Linked DNA regions of Homo sapiens: all the other regions are linked to region 4. The links are contacts of gene promoters, found by promoter capture Hi-C in blood cells and fetal thymus (Javierre and others, 2016). All regions are on one chromosome and are shown on one strand. The core of a region is centred on a gene start or on the middle of the fragment in contact, and the rest is flanking DNA. Distances in the headings are between cores, read along the strand shown. Region 1 overlaps DUS2 (dihydrouridine synthase 2). Region 2 overlaps NFATC3 (nuclear factor of activated T cells 3). Region 3 overlaps GFOD2 (Gfo/Idh/MocA-like oxidoreductase domain containing 2). Region 4 holds the start of PSKH1 (protein serine kinase H1).

The links. Contacts are between HindIII fragments. The CHiCAGO score rates a contact against its expected background, and 5 or more counts as called.
Region 1: a fragment that was not itself captured here is called in contact with the fragment with the promoter of PSKH1 in region 4 in 6 of 17 cell types (total B cells, naive B cells, neutrophils and 3 more); the score reaches 7.7 in total B cells.
Region 2: a contact is called between a fragment that was not itself captured here and the fragment with the promoter of PSKH1 in region 4, in 1 of 17 cell types (neutrophils). The highest score is 5.4, in neutrophils.
Region 3: a fragment that was not itself captured here is called in contact with the fragment with the promoter of PSKH1 in region 4 in 1 of 17 cell types (erythroblasts); the score reaches 6.4 in erythroblasts.

The regions. Positions count from the first base shown.
Region 1 is chr16:68,071,117-68,075,209 of GRCh38, reverse strand. DUS2 (dihydrouridine synthase 2) reads right to left here. Exons shown (of 17, transcript NM_017803.5): 13 at 1,055-1,176. Among named protein-coding and RNA genes, the nearest start is that of NFATC3, 12 kb to the left of the region's middle. The HindIII fragment of the contact is 1,112 bases long and covers 889-2,000 here.
Region 2 is chr16:68,093,591-68,097,698 of GRCh38, reverse strand. The region is part of intron 1 of NFATC3 (nuclear factor of activated T cells 3); the gene reads right to left. Among named protein-coding and RNA genes, the nearest start is that of NFATC3, 10 kb to the right of the region's middle. RefSeq lists a silencer at 3,619-3,913. The HindIII fragment of the contact is 6,898 bases long and covers 1-4,108 here.
Region 3 is chr16:67,706,861-67,711,250 of GRCh38, reverse strand. All of the region lies in intron 1 of GFOD2 (Gfo/Idh/MocA-like oxidoreductase domain containing 2), which reads left to right. Among named protein-coding and RNA genes, the nearest start is that of GFOD2, 10 kb to the left of the region's middle. RefSeq lists enhancers at 365-1,142, 1,143-1,921. The HindIII fragment of the contact is 2,912 bases long and covers 31-2,942 here.
Region 4 is chr16:67,891,554-67,895,508 of GRCh38, reverse strand. PSKH1 (protein serine kinase H1) reads right to left here and starts at 2,255. Exons shown (of 3, transcript NM_006742.3): 1 at 2,138-2,255. RefSeq lists silencers at 2,009-2,128, 2,459-2,518. The HindIII fragment of the contact is 6,871 bases long and covers 1,657-3,955 here.

The DNA of each region.
Region 1 (4,093 bases), core at 195-2,694, 180 kb before region 4:
CTGCCCAGCCCTGGGATTACTGTGGACTGGAAGATGGAAAGTGAATGTGAACCCAAGCGTGGACACTGGAGGGAGGCTGGGCTGGGTGGCAAAGGTTGTAAAGGTCACCCCCACCACCTGCAGCCTCTCTCCTGAGGGGAAGCACACAGATGGTATCCCCAGCCAGCCGTGACTGAGTTAACCAATGCTGATCAAGCACATGGGCCCATGGGAGGAAGAGACAGAGGCCTGACCACTAAGTGGTTCCCCACTTCCCGCCCAGCCACAGGCAGTTATACATGGGTCTCAGCTGACACTGAGGCACCACCCAGAGCTACAGAGTTATGTGGGGTAGGGACTGAACCAATGCCATAAGCCAAGGGTGGGAAGAGGGCTCTGGCAAAGGTTTTTCCCTTCTAGGAAACATCTTGAAGGCTGGAAGACTCAAACGAAGATAGATCCCCAATGGCAAAAGTGGTTCAGAAAGGCATCTATGTAAGAGGGAGGCTACAGATAGCTCACGTGAGAGGGAGAGAGCCTTCCAGGCAGACGACCCATTACAAGCACAGGTGTGGAGTTCTGGAAGCAGACAGGTAGACAGGGAGCTGTGGGGGCAGTGGCTAGGCCAGCTTGTGAAGGGCCTCAACTGTCAACCATCTGAGCTAGAGCTGCACCTGATCTAGAGAATCAACAGGTGGTCTCTCAAACTGCAGGGTGATGGATGTGAGTGCAGGCTCAAGGTAGAGGCTCCATGCTACAGCCCAATTCTCCTGACCACTGGTTCCTGGGGGCCTGGCCTGTGACTATCCCATTTATGGAAAATCCCCTTCCTTTGCATTCCTCTATCCTTCTAGTACCCTAGTTCCCAGAGCTCTGCTGATCCGTCCAGGGATGGGACGTTTCAAAGCTTTCAAAGAATCCCCTCCTGGGAGGCAAAGCTGTACCATCACTCCACTCCTCTACATCTACATCCAGAAGCTGTGTCCCTGGTCCCCTGGTGGAGTCAGCTTAGGGCTCAAAGTCAAACTTGGGCAATGCGTACAAGGACAGATGGACATCTTATTGTGCCTCTTACCAAATTTCCCGGGAAGACTGGGCAGCATGGAGCAACCTTCCCTGGGGCGACTCCAGCTGTTCTCGTAGCATCTGGCACAAGCAGTACTTGGTGTTGGTGTAGTGGTTGTCATACTGCACCGCCTGAGAAAAGAAATGACTTGCCTGATGCCCAGGCAGGCTCTAAGGCCTGGGCTATGCTCTGATGGCAGGGAAAGGAGCTCCAAGAAGGCACCAGAGATGTATGTGTAGCCAAGGCAATGTGACCCCCATAAGAAGAACCACCACTGGCCAGGAGCAGTGGCTCACATCTGTAATCCCAGCACTCTGAGAGGCCAATGCAGGAGGACTGCTTGAGGCTAGGAGTTCAAGAGCAGCCTGGGCAACGTAAGACTCAACTCTACAAAAATTAAAAAAAAGAAAATTATCGGCTGGGCACGGTGGCTCACGCCTGTAATCACAGCACCTTGGGAGGCCAAGGCGGGCGGATCACCTGAGGTCAGGAGTTCAAGACCAGCCTGACCAACATGGTGAAGCCCCGTCTCTACTAAAAATACAAAATTAGCTGGGCGTGGTGGCGGGTGCCTGTAATCCCAGCTACTCGGGAGGCTGAGGCAAGAGAATCGCTTGAACCCTGGAGGCGAAGGTTGCGGTGAGCCAAGATCGTGCCACTGCACTCCAGCCTGGGCGACAACAGCAAAACTCTGTCTCAAAAAAAAAAAAAAAAAGAAAAAGAAAATTAGCCAGGCATGTTGGCACACACCTGTAGCCATAGCTACTAGGGAGGCTAAGGCAAGAGGATTGCTTGCACCCAGGAGTTGTGGCTGTAGTGAGCTATGATCATGCCACTGCACTCCAGCCTGGGCAACAGACTGAGACCCTATCTAAAATTAAAAATAAAAATAAAAATAAATTAAAAAGCCACTTCGACCTTGGTCATCTACTCTTCCAGCTAGTGGTACAAAGCTTGAGGGTCACAGCCAAGGACCACGGTCAGAAACACATTCTCCTGGACAGCCTGACTGAGGTCTCGAAGTGCGGGAGCCCCTTCCTGCTTCAGCCACCACAGAGGACCTACTGCCAAGTATCTTCCAGGGAAGGGAGGGGAAACACACCAAATTCTGGCATGGCAGGTCCAGTGCCAGGAAAGGGGTGAGATTCTTCTATTCCTTCTAACCAGAATGGGCACCTTCCCTTCCCACATCTTGAATAGCCTCTAACTTCCCCCTACGTGGGTAAAACACAGCATCATTTAGTTCACATGGGTTACTCATGACTACATTTATCTATACAAGTGTGAGGTGCAACTGTCACCATCACTCCACAGACCGTGAAATGAAGGCTCAGGGAGGCAAGATGACTGACTGCCTGGGACACCCAGTGGAAGTCGGCTGGCTAGAGGTAGGGCAGGAGAGCAGTATTGGGTGAAGGTGGCCTTCCCCAGCCCTCCAGGACACCCTCCCATCCCCCACCCCCTATGCTGCTCTAGTAACTCCACGTGGGCCTATGACTTCAGTGGCTGGGAAAGTGCCACGGCACGCTCAGGACAAAGTGGGAAGTAAGTCGGGGCGCCCCGGCTGGTGGCAAGTCCTTGACTCAGCTTGTCTGGGAAGAAGGCACCTGGCTGGACCAGAAGCAGCCCTGCCTATGCTTGAAAGCCGCTCCCTTTCTCTGTGATAGCACACCCTCTTGAGGAGCTGCCAAGAGATGGCTCAGCAGGAATGATAATATCACCTTTCACCCAGTGAGCAAGCTCAGCACTGTTCAGCACGTCTTCTTGGCCAGACTTGCCAGCTGGCCAAAAAGCTGGATAGCTGACCTGGGCTGGGGCAAGCCCTCCCTTGCCATGGAGCTATCCCAGACCATTGGAGAGCTGGTGGTCACCAACTTGCCCAGCAGGACACCAGAACCAGGGAGTGAGGGCTGCAGCATTGAACAGGAAATAGGACAAAGGCTGCCCAGCTCTGGACGCAGACCTCAGGGCATCTTACCATCCTAGCTTGCACAGCCATGGAAACACTCACATACCATGGCAGCCACAGGCACTCCTAGGCAGGTATGAACCCTAGGACTGAAGAGGAGGGTGGAACTCTGCTCTGGGCAAAGACTGCACCCTCTGTTCAGACCCAATTCACTGAAGAATTTGAGGACCACTCACTGTCTCTCCCTGCAGACATGTGCAGCTGATCAGAGTCCCACAGAGTTCCAGGGTTGTGCCAAAGAGATAAGGCAAGTGAACTCTTCATTTTCTTTTATAGGGATATGCCCTTGGCACTACCATCAACCTCTCAATGAGAAGAAACTGGTTTAGAAAAGGCCATTCCCAGCCTGGGCAACATAGGGAGACCTCATCTCTATTAAAAAAATAAAAAATTAGCTGAGTGTTGTGGCACATGCCTGTAGTCCCAACTACTTGGGAGGCTGAAGCAGGAGGATCACTTGAGCCCAGGAGGTCAAGACTGCAGTGAGTCATGATTATGCCACTATGCTCACACCTGGGCAACAGAGCAAGACCCCATCTCAAAAAAAAAAAAAAAAAGCTATTCCCTAAGTAGAGGGTTATGCTTAAAGCATTCTGGAATTAGCAAGAGAAAAGTTTTAGAAATTATTTCGACTGATGAGTCAAATCAGGTGAGAAATTTCTCAATTGCTCCTCTTGGCTGTGGCTGCTCCTGAGCCAACCTATAGGCACATATGCCTTTGATGATGCAGAACCCACAGTCCACGTGCATATGCCTCTGTATGTGCAGCGTGTGAGAAAAAGAAAGATATATATCATGTGTTCGGGGTTCCAACAGCATCCTGGATCTAGAAGGTTCTTGCTATGACCTGCAAACCTCTGGAAGCTTTAGGAGATGGTAGGGGTATGCCCCCCAGCATCCTCTCTTAGCATTGCAGCTGGGGAGACCGAATAAAGCAGTGAGCTAGTGCAGCTACACTACATGAGCTAAAAAGAAAAGGAGAGGAACAGCAAGCACAGCTGGCAGCTGGGGGCTCACACAAAGTGCTCTCTGCAGGAGTGTGGTAGACAGTGAGAAATGCTTGTTTTGAAAAAGTACAG
Region 2 (4,108 bases), core at 1,049-3,548, 200 kb before region 4:
CCCTCTTCTGCCTTGGCTTTCCCTACACCATTCTCTTGATTGTCTAATTTAACTCTGTGACAGTATCTTCTCAGACTTCTCTCCTTGCCATCCTTGCAATACTGTTGTTTCCAGAGTCCTGTTCTCAGCCTCCTTTTCACATTATAATCCACACTCTGTTGCAGTGACTTCATCCATGCCCATGACTTCAACTATCATCAATATCTATAGACCAATAACTTTCAAATCTCTTTTGTGCAAGTTTCTCTTTTGAGCTCTACACTTATATTTCCAATTGCCTAATAAATCTACAGATGCTTCAAACTAGACATACACAAAACTGAACTCCTTTTTACTATATACTCTCATTGCACTTTATACTTTGCACTTTGTATTTTCATGACACTAGTTACATTAATAATTACTAGACTGTGCACTTCATGAAGGCAAGGGCCATGTCTTGTTCACCACTATTTCCACAGACATTTTGTAATAGCACATTTTATTAAAATGAATCACCTTTCTCCCTCCCCACCTCCAAAGCTAATTCTCCTACCACAACTGACCCAAACTAGAAAAATAGAAATAATCCTGCCTCCTTCCCTTTCCTTACTCAATGGATACCAGGTCCTATTGATTTCTTTCCTGTAAATCTATCTGAGCACTATTCCCACTTTGTCGTCTTCACTGCTCTACCCTTATCATTTCTCAAATACATGTGTCCCCACCTCCATTCCTGTCTTCTTCAATCTATTACCCACAGTATAGTAGAGTGATGGAGCTACAAATCTGACATTTCTGCCCAATTTGAAATCCTTCAATGGCTCCCTGCTGTCTTCAAACTAAAATCCAAACTCCTCAATACAGTATAATAGTCTGTCCCTCTCCAGCCACATCTGGACACAACAGAATCCTGATCTTCCACTTTCCAAATTAAAGGACCATGCTCTTTAACCTGTCTTTGGGTGTGATAATCGGCTGGCCTGAAATGTTATGTCCTCCCTTAGCCACCTGGTGAACTCATCCCACTGGATTCTGCTCAACTGTACTCTTCTCTGACCTCTCTACTCAGAGTTAATCTGTGTCATTATATGCTCAGAGGCCCTTCTCCGTACCTCTGTTATATTAATATTGTTGTAGTCATTTATATGTCTACTCCAATAGACTGAATTATATTTAATTTGTATTACCAGTATTTGGCACATAATAATACTGACACTTAACAAAACTTAATTAAAAGATTAAATGATTTAGTATATTTACCCACTTAATGGAAGAGGACTTTCTTGAGGTCCCTTCCAGCTCAGTTACTCTAAGATCTCATACAATGTTCCCCTCTGGTTACTACTTTCTCTTCTTCTACATATTCTTCTATTTTATCCTTTAACAACAGCTAGTTTCTTTCAGATGAGCCTTCGAAAGAATGAAACAAAGCACTTTAAAAAGAATTTTTAGCGTGGGCATGGTGGCTCACACCTGTAATCCCAGTACATTGGGAGGCCAAGGTGGGAGGACTGCTCAGGCCCAGGAGTTTGAGACTGGCCTGGGCAACACAGAAAGACTCCGTCTCTATCAAAAACAATTTTTAAAAATTAGCTGGGCATGGTGGCAAGCACCTGTGGTTTGAGCTACTTGGGAGGCTGAGTTAAGACTGCAGTGATCTATGATTGAGCCACTGAACTCCAGCCTGGGCAACAAAGTGAGACCCTGTCTCAAAATAAATTTTAAGAAATAAAATAAAATAAGCATTTAAAAAACACTTTACTATCTCAATTTTGACAAATCAGATTTGACACTGTCTTTATGCTTCTGTATGTCTGCATAATCATCAGGTTCCACCTGAACCACACAACAAAAATGAATTTTGTGTCCCAGATCTCCCACCCATCAAGACACCAACCCCACTGTTATTAATCCAGGATCAATAGCCATACTTCTCTTTCTTGGCACCTCTATCAACTCCCATGCCCATCCCCAAGGACTCTGACAAAGCAAAAGAAAAAGCAAGTGCCAGAGAAAGTAACTGCATAACAAAAGTCAGGTTTACATTATAAAGTCCCTCAACTGGCTGGGCACAGGGGCTCATGCCTATAATCCCAGCACTTTGGGAGGCCGAGGCAGGCGGATCACCTGAGGTAGGGAGTTCAAGACCAGCGTGTCCAACATGGTGAAACCCTGTCTCTACTAAGAATACAAAAATTAGCCAGGCACGGTGACACACATCTGTAATCCCAGCTACTTGGGAGGCATGAGGCAGGAAAATCACTTGAACCTGGGAGGTGGAAGTTGCAGTGAGCAGAGATTGTGCCACTGTGCTCCAGCCTAGGTGACAGAGTGAGACTCTGTCTCAAAAAAAAAAAAAAAAAAAAAAATTAGCTGGGCATGTGGTGCACACCTGTAATCCCAGCTACTTCAGCTACTTGAGAGGCTGAGGCATCACAATCACCTGAACCCAGGAGGCAGAGGTTGCACTCCAGCCTGGGAAATAGAGTGAGATTCTCTCTCAAAAAAAAAAAATTTTTTTTAAGTCCCTCAGTTGCTAGAATACTGTGGATAGTAAGCACAGACAATTCTTTTGGTTGACCCCCTCCCAGCATCCATTTTCTCTTTCTTCCTCCCTAACAGATTTTCTATCCTTCTATCCACTCCTCTCCCATGCAGCCTTGTGTTTTGGGGAAGCCAACCATATCCTCAGGCCAAGGCATAGGTCTGGTTGGCTAAGAATAATTCCACTCATCTTTACCAGTAACTAATTTAGGAAAGGGAATGTAACCCAGTTTTGGTCAATGAAACGCAAGGTTAAGTTTGCTGAAGGCTTCTGGAAAAGTCCTTCGTCACTCTTAAAAAGAAAAGAGCTGTGTGAAGCCAGCATCCGTGTCTCATTCCTTCCCCTCAGCAAATATCAATCCAAATGTAACTATTTTGCATATATTTAAACTAGAAGATTAAGAGTATTTTACTATTTATTTCAAATAGTAATCGGATGATTAAAAAGTCAACAGAAGTGCTAAAACCATGATCAGCCAACATTTACTAGGTAACATGTATGACAAAAGAGCTTTCTTGCCTTTGCTCTCAAAGGGAGAGTTCTGGTGAAACTCAGAGACAACTGGGTATGTACAAGAGAGAGAGAAAATCCAAAAGAGTACTGATCTTGAGAGAGAAGAATAAATGGCAGATGGCAAATTGGTCAAAATATCAAGGAAAAAAATGTGTATCAGTCCTAGTGGCTATAGAAGGTAGTTCTCCTTGCATCCTAAATTCAATCAAATAAATAGTACTCATTTTTTTTTTTTTGAACATGTGAAAGCAAAATGTTAACCTTGAAAAATGAAACTACCCTGACTATTGAGCATTTTTAAAATTCTGAATTTTTCCTCATTCAGGTTTAGGGCAATTTTGACGACAGATCTAAACGCTTTAAACTTTAAAAGCAAAACAGCCTGCAAGATGACAAATCAGACCCTAATCAAGACAACATGGGCGGAGAGGGGGGCTGCCAAAGACAAAGGCCAATTTCTCCTTAGAGTAAACTGCCTTAAAACCTAAAATGATATCACCTCTTGACCTCCAGATCCACAAAGCAGCAAAGAGAAAAGGCCCAAAAGAGCTAAATTTGGGTCTAGCACAGTTAGCGATATAGCGATACAGTACCCTCTATTGGTCTAACTGTATCACTGCTACCCTTTAAAATTTCCTAGAGCAGGCAGGAATAAGAAGCATCCCTCAAGTAGCTATTTTGAGCCCAAAGCAGAAAATCTAGTCACAGGAACACATGTAATTTGTAAGACATGACTCATATATGTTTGATTCCATATGCCCAACATGACCCTTGCTTTCACCATAGGAAAAACTGAGTCTTTCTGTACTTAAACTCTTTCTGAGAATAGCAAGGCAAGAGGCAGGCATAGCAGAAAGGGCCCAAAATTTGAGGTCAGAAAACCAAAGTTCAAATACCAGCTAATTCCACTTTCTAGATGGTCAAATCCATCTGCATTTCTGTTTCCTTATGCGCTAAATAGAAATAATACCTCTCTCTAGGTTATCATGAGATAATGCACATAAAAATACCTTGCACATAATAGGTACTCAATAACACTGGATTAAATATTTATCTAATGTATCACAA
Region 3 (4,390 bases), core at 237-2,736, 180 kb after region 4:
GTATTTGACAAAGATGAGATAGCTGAAGCTTGGTTATTTGTAGTATGATTTACAACCAATAATCCAGGGTTTTCAGCCATGATGCCTGAACACAGAGCATCATGAGAGAGTTGCATAATTGCAGTTTGAAGTTCTGAACATTGTACTTTTCCTTCCTACCTCTTTTGGAGTCTTCATTCTGAAGAAATGCTTTTGGGTCTGGTTACTGCTCTGGGGAAGGGGAGTGTCTGTTAATCACAAATTGGGTTTTTAATGACATTGGGCTGCTGTGCCTTTTACTGCACAACCAATGTCAATGTTTGGGTTTTTTTCATGGTGATGAAGACTTTATTCAGGACCATGGCGGCAGGTATAGGTACCTCTGCAATGAGTCTTGCAGTTGGGGAGAGAGACTGAGCTCAACTCTGAATAGAGCACAGCAAGTGGGGATTGATAGTCAAGGAGCAGGGTAGGGGTCAGTGGATAGAAAATGACTCACAATGTCAGTGTTTTTATCGTAATTGAGCCTCAGAGTGTGAAACCTTTCTCACGTGGAACTCAAAGTGCATTATAAATCTGTCATTGAACACTTTTAAAAATAAGGCTAACTGGCCGGGCGCGGTGGCTTATGCCTGTAATCCCAGCACTTTGGGAGGCTGAGGTGGGTGGATCACGAGGTCAGGAGATCGAGACCATCCTGGCTAACACGGTGAAACCCCGTCTCTACTAAAAAACAAAAAATTAGCCGGGCATGGTAGCAGGCGCCTGTAGTCCAGCTACTCGGGAGGCTGAGGCAGGAGAATGGCGTGAACCCGGGAGGCGGAGCTTGCGGTGAGCTGAGATCGCACCACTGCACTTCTCCACTTCGTCTCAAAAAACAAAGGCTAACTTTGGGAGGCCAAGGCGGGCAGATCACTTGAGGTGAGGAGTTTGAGACCAGCCCGGCCAACATGGTGAAACCCGGTTTCTACTAAAAATACAGGGCTGGCGTGGTGGCTCATGCCTATAATCCCAGCACTTTGGGAGGCCTAGGCAGGAGGATCATTTGAGCCCAGGAGTTCGAGGCTACAGTAAGCTATGATCGCCCCACTGCACTCCGGCCTGACCAACAGAGCAAGACCCTGTCTCTAAAAAAATAATAAATAAAAATACAAAAAAAATTAGCTGGGTGTCGTGGCTCACAGTTGTATCCCAGGTACTCGGGAGGCTGAGGCAGGAGAATCATTTGCACCCAGGAAACAGAGGTTGTGGTGAGCCAAGAGTGCACCACTGCACTCCAGCCTGGGTGACAGAGTGACACTCTGTCCCCAAAAAATAAAAAATAGATAAACATAAGGCTAATTTGGCTGGGCACGGTGGCTCACGCCCGTAATCCCAACACTTTGGGAGGCTGAGACGGGCGGATCACTTGAGGACAAGAGTTGAATACCAGCCTCAAGACCAGCCTGGGCAATATGGGAAACCCCGTCTCTACCAAAAATACAAAAAAAATAGCTGGGTGTGGTGGCATGTGCCTGTGGTCCTAGCTACTCAGGGGGCTGAAGTGGGAGGAATGCTTGAACCCAGGAGGCAGAGGTTGCAGTGAGCTGAGATCATGCCACTGCACTCCAGCCTGGTGACAGAGTGAGACTCCATTATAATAATAATAAGGCTAATTTATATCCTGCTGAGTCTCTCATAGCACCATTCTTTTCCTTTATAGCATTTAATCTCAAATCATAATTACATATTTATGTGATTATTTGATTATCTTATCTCTCCTCCTAGACTGTACACTCTTTGCAAGCAGAAACTATATCTGTTTGGCTTACTGAAGTATCCTGCACTTTGCTGAGGCCTGGCTCATAGTCTGTGCTTAATAAGTATTTATTAATCAATCTACATAAATTACAGGTGTCATTTTATACACAAGCACCTAAAACACCTAATCAGCCTAGCTAATGTCCCAATCTTTTTTTTTTTTTTCTTTTGAGATAGGCTCTGTTGCCCAGGCTGGAGTACAGTGGTGCAATCACAGCCCACTGCAGCCTTGACCTACTGGGCTCAAGAGATCCTCCCACCCCAGTCTCCTCTCCTGAGTAGCTGGGACTACAGGTTTGTGCCACCATGCCTAGCTAATTTTTGTATTTTTTGTGGAGAAGGAGTTTTGCCATGTTGCCCAGGCTGGTCTCAAACTCTTGGGCTCAAGTGATCCACTTGCCTCGGCCTCCCAAAGTCCTGGGATTACAGGTGTGAGCCACTGCTCTCAGCCCTACAGTTTGTTTTAAGTTAGGTTGAGGATCTGTCTCACTTCATAACTAGGGCCGTGACCCTCACCTCTGGCCCCAGTGCTTTATATTAGGATGAAATTACTGAAAAGAATTCACAGAAAAATCAAATTATCAAATGAGTCTTATTTGCATTTCAAATAAAGGGAATTCTACAGTATGGGTCTTGACACTGGCCTTTTGGAATGTGCCTGAGGGGACAGAGGTGTGCATCAAGTCTGTGGAGGTGCCTCTCAGGATGCAGTGCTCTGGAAGGTGTGGGGCTGGATCTGGGGCTAGTCTCATGGTGAGTGGCCCTTGAGGCACAGTGGAGGCTGACACTAAGTGAGGGCTTGCCACTCTTTCAGTGCCAAGTCTTATTGCCCAACCTGTATAGCTACAACTGCAAACTGATACATACCAATGCTCTATGAATAGCCATCATTAAATTTGCTTGCCAGAAATGATACGGGAGAACCCCTTTTGAACCCTCCCTTCCTCAGTATGAGTTGTTCATGAGTGGTGAGGACTTCCTAACATCTGGAGCTCAGCCACTCACCCAGTGTGACACACTGCCCAGGGAAAAGTGCCATCTTCAGATACGCTCAGCAAGTGCTGGGATTCACCAGCCTACTGGGCCTTAGCTTGAAGTTTCTTTCTCAGAAAACTTATTCTCTTGGCCCCAGCCTGTACCGATGATGTCCCCAAAAGTAAGCTTACAGGTTTTTTTGTTTTGTTTTAAAGGAAAGAGACTTCTAATTCACACATATCCATTTAGTTTGATTACAGAACTGAATTTGCAAGGTGTGAACAGGTTGTTCTATGTCCTTGGGCACAACTACTTAAGGTGATTAAAAATTAAGGTATAATTTACATACAATTAAAAACACAGATCTTAAATATTCAATTTGATGAGTTTTGACAGTTGTACCACCATGTAACCCAAGCACCAAACAAGATACAGAACATTTCCATCACTCTAGAATGTAGCCTTGTGCCTCTTTCTGTTCGATTCCCTCCGCCTCAGCCACCACCGCCACTGCCGCCTTCTGACTAGTGTTGCTATAAATAAGGCTGGCTTATTCCTGAATTTCAAAAAAGTGGAATTCTACAGTATGGGTCTTCTGTGTGTGGGCCTGCCATCTTTCACTCTACATAATGTTTTTAAGATTCATACAGGCTAGGCGAGGTGGTTCATTGTAATCCCAGCACTTTAGAAGACTGAGGCAGGGGGATCACTTGAGGCCAGCAGGTTGAGACCAGCCTGGGCAACACAGTGAGACTCACATCTCTACAAAAAAATTAATAAAATTTTTAAAAAGAAAAAAATTCATTAATAGTTAATTCCTTTTTACTGTTTTACTGTATTCCATTGTGTGACATCATAATTTATGATGTGAACATTTGTTTCTAGTGTGGGGCCATTATGAATAAGGCTGCTGTGAACATTTGTATAATTTTTTTTGTGGACTTATGTTTTTATTTTCTTAGATAAATATCTATAAGTGGAGTTGCTGTGATTGGGTTGATATATGTTTAACTATAAGAAACTGTCAATTTTCCAAAGTGGTTGTACTGTTTTACATTCCCACCAAGAATGTATGGGAGTTCCATTTGCCGCATATCCTCTCCAAACTTCAGGATTGTAAGTCTTTTTTTTTTTTTTTTGAAATGGAGTTTCACTCTGTGGCCCAGGCTGGAGTGCAATGGCGCGATCTTCACTCCCTGCAACCTCCGCCTCCTGGGTTCAAGCAATTCTCCTGCCTTAGCCTCCTGAGTAGCTGGGATTACAGGCATGCACCACCACACCAGGCTATTTTTGTATTTTCAGTAGACATGGGGTTTCACCATGTTGGCCAGGATGGTCTTGAACTCCTGACCTCAGGTGATCCACCCATCTTGGCTTCCCACAGTGCTGGGATTACAGGCGTGAGCCACTGCGCCCGGACATTTTTTTTTTTTTTTTTGAGATGGAGTCTCGCTCTGTTGCCCAGGCTGGAGTGCAGTGGTGCGATCTCGGCTCACTGCAAGCTCCACCTCCTGGGTTTACACCATTCTCCTTCCTCAGCCTCCCGAGTAGCTGGGACTACAGGTGCCCACCACCATACCTGGCTAATTTTTTTGCATTTTTGGTAGAGATGGGGTTTCACCATGTGTTAGCCAAG
Region 4 (3,955 bases), core at 1,006-3,505:
TGAACCTGGGAGGCGGAGGTTGCAGTGAGCCGAGATCGCACCACTGCACTCCAGCCTGGGTGTCAGAGCAAGACTCCATCTCAGAAAAAAAAAAAAAATACAGATTCCTACCCCAGATCTTCTTCATCAAAATCTCAAAGAGTGGGTCAGGTGTGGTGGCTCTTGCCTGTAACCCTAAAACTTCGGGAGGCCAAGGTGGGAGGACTGCTTGAGCCCAGGAGTTCGACACCAGCCTCGGCAACATGGCGAGACCTCGTCTCTGTTTAAACAAAAAAAAAAAAATCTCAGCCAGGCATAGTGGCTTATGCCTGCAACCCTAGCACTTTGGGAGGCCGAGGCAGGTGGATCACCTGAGGTCAGGAGTTCGAGACCAGCCTGGCCAACACGGTGAAACACCATCTCTACTAAAAATACAAAATTAGCTGGGCATAGTGGTGCTTGCCTGTAACCCCAGCTACTCTGGGGGCTGAGGCAGGAGAATCACTTGAACCTGGGGGGTAGAGGTTGCAGTGAGCCAAGATCGCGCCATTGCTCCAGCCTGGGCAAAAAGAGCAAAACTCCGTCTCAAAAAAAAAAAAAAAAAAAAACTAACTCAGACAGTAAGGCTCTTGATTTTGTATCACAAAATTATCCCAGGAGATTTTGGACTATCCAGGATTAAGAGGCTGTACTACCTACCACACACATACGCTGGCATTTGCTGTGCTCATCTTAGATCCTAGCCCTGATAGGTGCTCAAAAATACAGTTGAATCTATCCATTCATAAGTCAGCATTCAGCAAATGCTACTGGAGGCTAGCCCCTATTTTATGCCAGGCACAGAGCCAGACATATGCAGACAGAAGACCACCATGTGACACAACAGGATGTACTCAATAGTAGCAGCATGGATATAGAGGAGTTAATGGTTACATGCCAAGCAAGGTAGATTTTTTTCCTAGGAAGTGACATCTCAGGTGGATTTTATAGGACAGATGTAAGTTTCCAACACTGGTAGGTGGTCGGTGGGGTGGAAGGCAGTGTATAGCAAACTGAGAAAACTGCGTTATCTAAAGCACAAGGGGACCAAGCACAGTGGCTCACGCTTGTATTAATAATCTCAATATGTTAGGAGCCTAGGCAGGAGGGTCTCTTGAAGCCAGCTCTGGCAACAAAGCCAGACTCCCTGGCTCTACAAAAAATTTTAAACTTAGCCAGGCGTGGAGGGGAGTGCCTCTTGTCTCAGCTACTCGGGAGGTTGAGGCGGGAGGATCATTTGAGTCCAGGAGTTCAAGGCTGCAGTGAGCTATGAATGAGCCATTGCACTCCAGCTTGGGCAATAGAGGCCTTGTCTCAAAATTAGTAATACTAAAACACAAAGGTATGAAACCAGAGCTAACAGGAGCGCCACACGTTTTAACAACAATAAACTACGTAAAGGGAGCACAGAAGTGCTCCGGTGTTGATTGGCTGGTTAAACCTTCACCAGATTACGAAGAGCCCTGAATGCCTTGCTAAGAAGTGCGGCCTTTGTCCTGAAGGCACTAAGGAACTAGTTTCAGGCAGTGAAGGACTTACTCAGATTTTCAGGTGGGAATTATCACTTCAGCCGCTTTATGGAGGGGGACTAAGTGTGGGGGACTAGGCTTCCCCTTGCAGGTAGAGGAATGACAAGCTTGCCAAGCAAGCAACCCAGCTGGACTCAGACCTGCTATTTCCCAGCCTGCACAAGGAAGCGATCAGCTGCCCCGCCGGCCCCTGGCAGACGCAAAGGAGGGGTGTGGAGTAGGCGCCGGGCGCGAGAAGGCAGTAAGGACAAGGACAACCAGGTTGGATCAACCTGACCCGCTCTGGACGCGGGGCGGCTGAACAGCAAGCAGGCAGGGCAACCGACCACGTCCACCAGGCCCAAGCGGGCCTGGAGACGGGCTATCCAGCACGACAGCACGTTCCGAGGCCAGTCCAGACTCGGACGCCGGGAACCCGAGCAGCCATCGCCCGGCCTGCTCTCCAACCCTGTAGGCCCTGGCGCACGGGGCACGGGCCGACGCTGCAGGCTGACCAGGGGCAGGCCCCGGAGCGCCAGAAAGCGACCACGACCACAGTTCGGCTGCCCCTCCCGCCCGTCGGGCCGTCGTCCTGGGCCGGGCCGCCTCACCTCGCGCGGGCGGCGGGCTCTTCGGCGTCTCGGCGGCTCTGCCGGCCATCTCCGGGCAATGGCAGCGGCCGCCGCCGCCGCCGCCGCCGCCGCCATTCTCGGGCGTTAGCGTCGTGGCGTCATCACAGCGCGCAGCTGACGCCAAAACAAGCCTACGGGGCGGGTCGGGGGCGGGTCGGGGGCGGACTCTCCCGAAACTGGGCTACGCGGCTGGCGGATCTCCGAGCGTGGCCTGCCAATCAACCTCTTCGGGGCGGGGACGGGCACTCTCCTGAAGGGGTGGGTCTATTTGTCGCTCAAAGTAACTTGACCGCTGCCTGCGAGACGGGTCGGTGATAGAAAAAGGAAGGATCGCGGGAAATAGGGAGAAAGTTTCAAGTTTCTGGTTGGGGGAAAGGGGACTCTGTAATGCGAGCTTGGGTAAACAATGCTTTCCAACAGAGGTTTCTGGAAGTGCCTCTGGAACTCCGCAAAGGATAGACTTAATTTTCATTAACAAAATCTATTTTTTAAAACTGCACTTAGAATAATTTCAACACTCCATGTGTTGAATTTGGCCTCCATCAAAGAAGAGATGCAAAGGGTTAATTTGTAGATAGGTGAAGTCAATCTTGGGCCAACTTCTGGACTCATGGTTATTTGTTGTTGTTAATTTAATTTATATGCCGAGTCTGAAAAGCAAGCGGATTTTTAAAAAATTGTTACCATTCACAATGACTTCTCTATAGGATCAGAACTGGTTCACTTTACAGTCAACCCAACTTGGAGGGGTTAAAATAGGTGCTGCAGATGGTAAGTGCATTGTAACCTCCATCCATCTTCCCCATTTCAGTAGCTCTGTATTCAAATCTTTATTGAGTATGTACTTTGCACATGGAACTGTCTTTGATTGACTGTATAAGCTAATGTTATACTTTAAACCTAAAAATAAATTAACACCAATAAAACATTGTCGTCGGCTGGGCGCCACTGCTCACACTTGTAATCCCAGCACTTTGGGAGGCCAAGGCAGGTGGATCACCTGAAGTCAGGAGTTTGAGACCAGTCTGACCAACAAGGTGAAACCCTGTCTCTACTAAAAATACAAAAATTAGCCAGGCTTGGTGGCAGGCTCCTGTAGTCCCAGCTACTCGGGAGGCTGAGACAGGAGAATAGCTACAACCTGGGAGACAGAGGTTGCAATGAGCTGAGATTGCACCACTGCACTCCAGCCTTGGCGATGGAGTGAGACTCCGTCTCAAAAAAAAAAAAAAAATTGTTGTCTATTTTATGTAGTAAGGTTTCTTTCTTTTCTTTTTTCCTGAGATGGAGTTTCGCTCTTGTTGTCAGGCTGGAGTGCAATGGCACAATCTCGGCTCACTGCAACCTCTGCCTCCCAAGTTCAAGCAATTCTCCTGCCTCAGCCTCCCCGAGTAGCTGGGATTACAGGCGCCTGCCACCATGCCCGGTTAATTTTCTTTATTTTTATTTTTATTTTTATTTTTATTTTTATTTTTATTTTTTTTGAGAAAGAGTCTCGCTTTGTCACCCAGGCTAGAGTGCAGTGGCGCAGTCTCGGCTCACTGCAAGCTCCGCCTCCTGGGTTCACGCCATTCTCCTGCCTCAGCCTCCCGAGTAGCTGGGACTATTGGCGCCCACCACTGTGCCCAGCTAATTTTTTGTATTTTTAGTAGAGACGGGGTTTCACCATGTTAGTCAGGATGGTCTCGATCTCCTGACCTCGTGATCCGCCCGCCTCGGCCTCCCAAAGTGCTGGGATTACAGGCGTGAGCCACCATGCCCAGCCGTAGTAAGGTTTCTTACAAGATTTCATTTAAA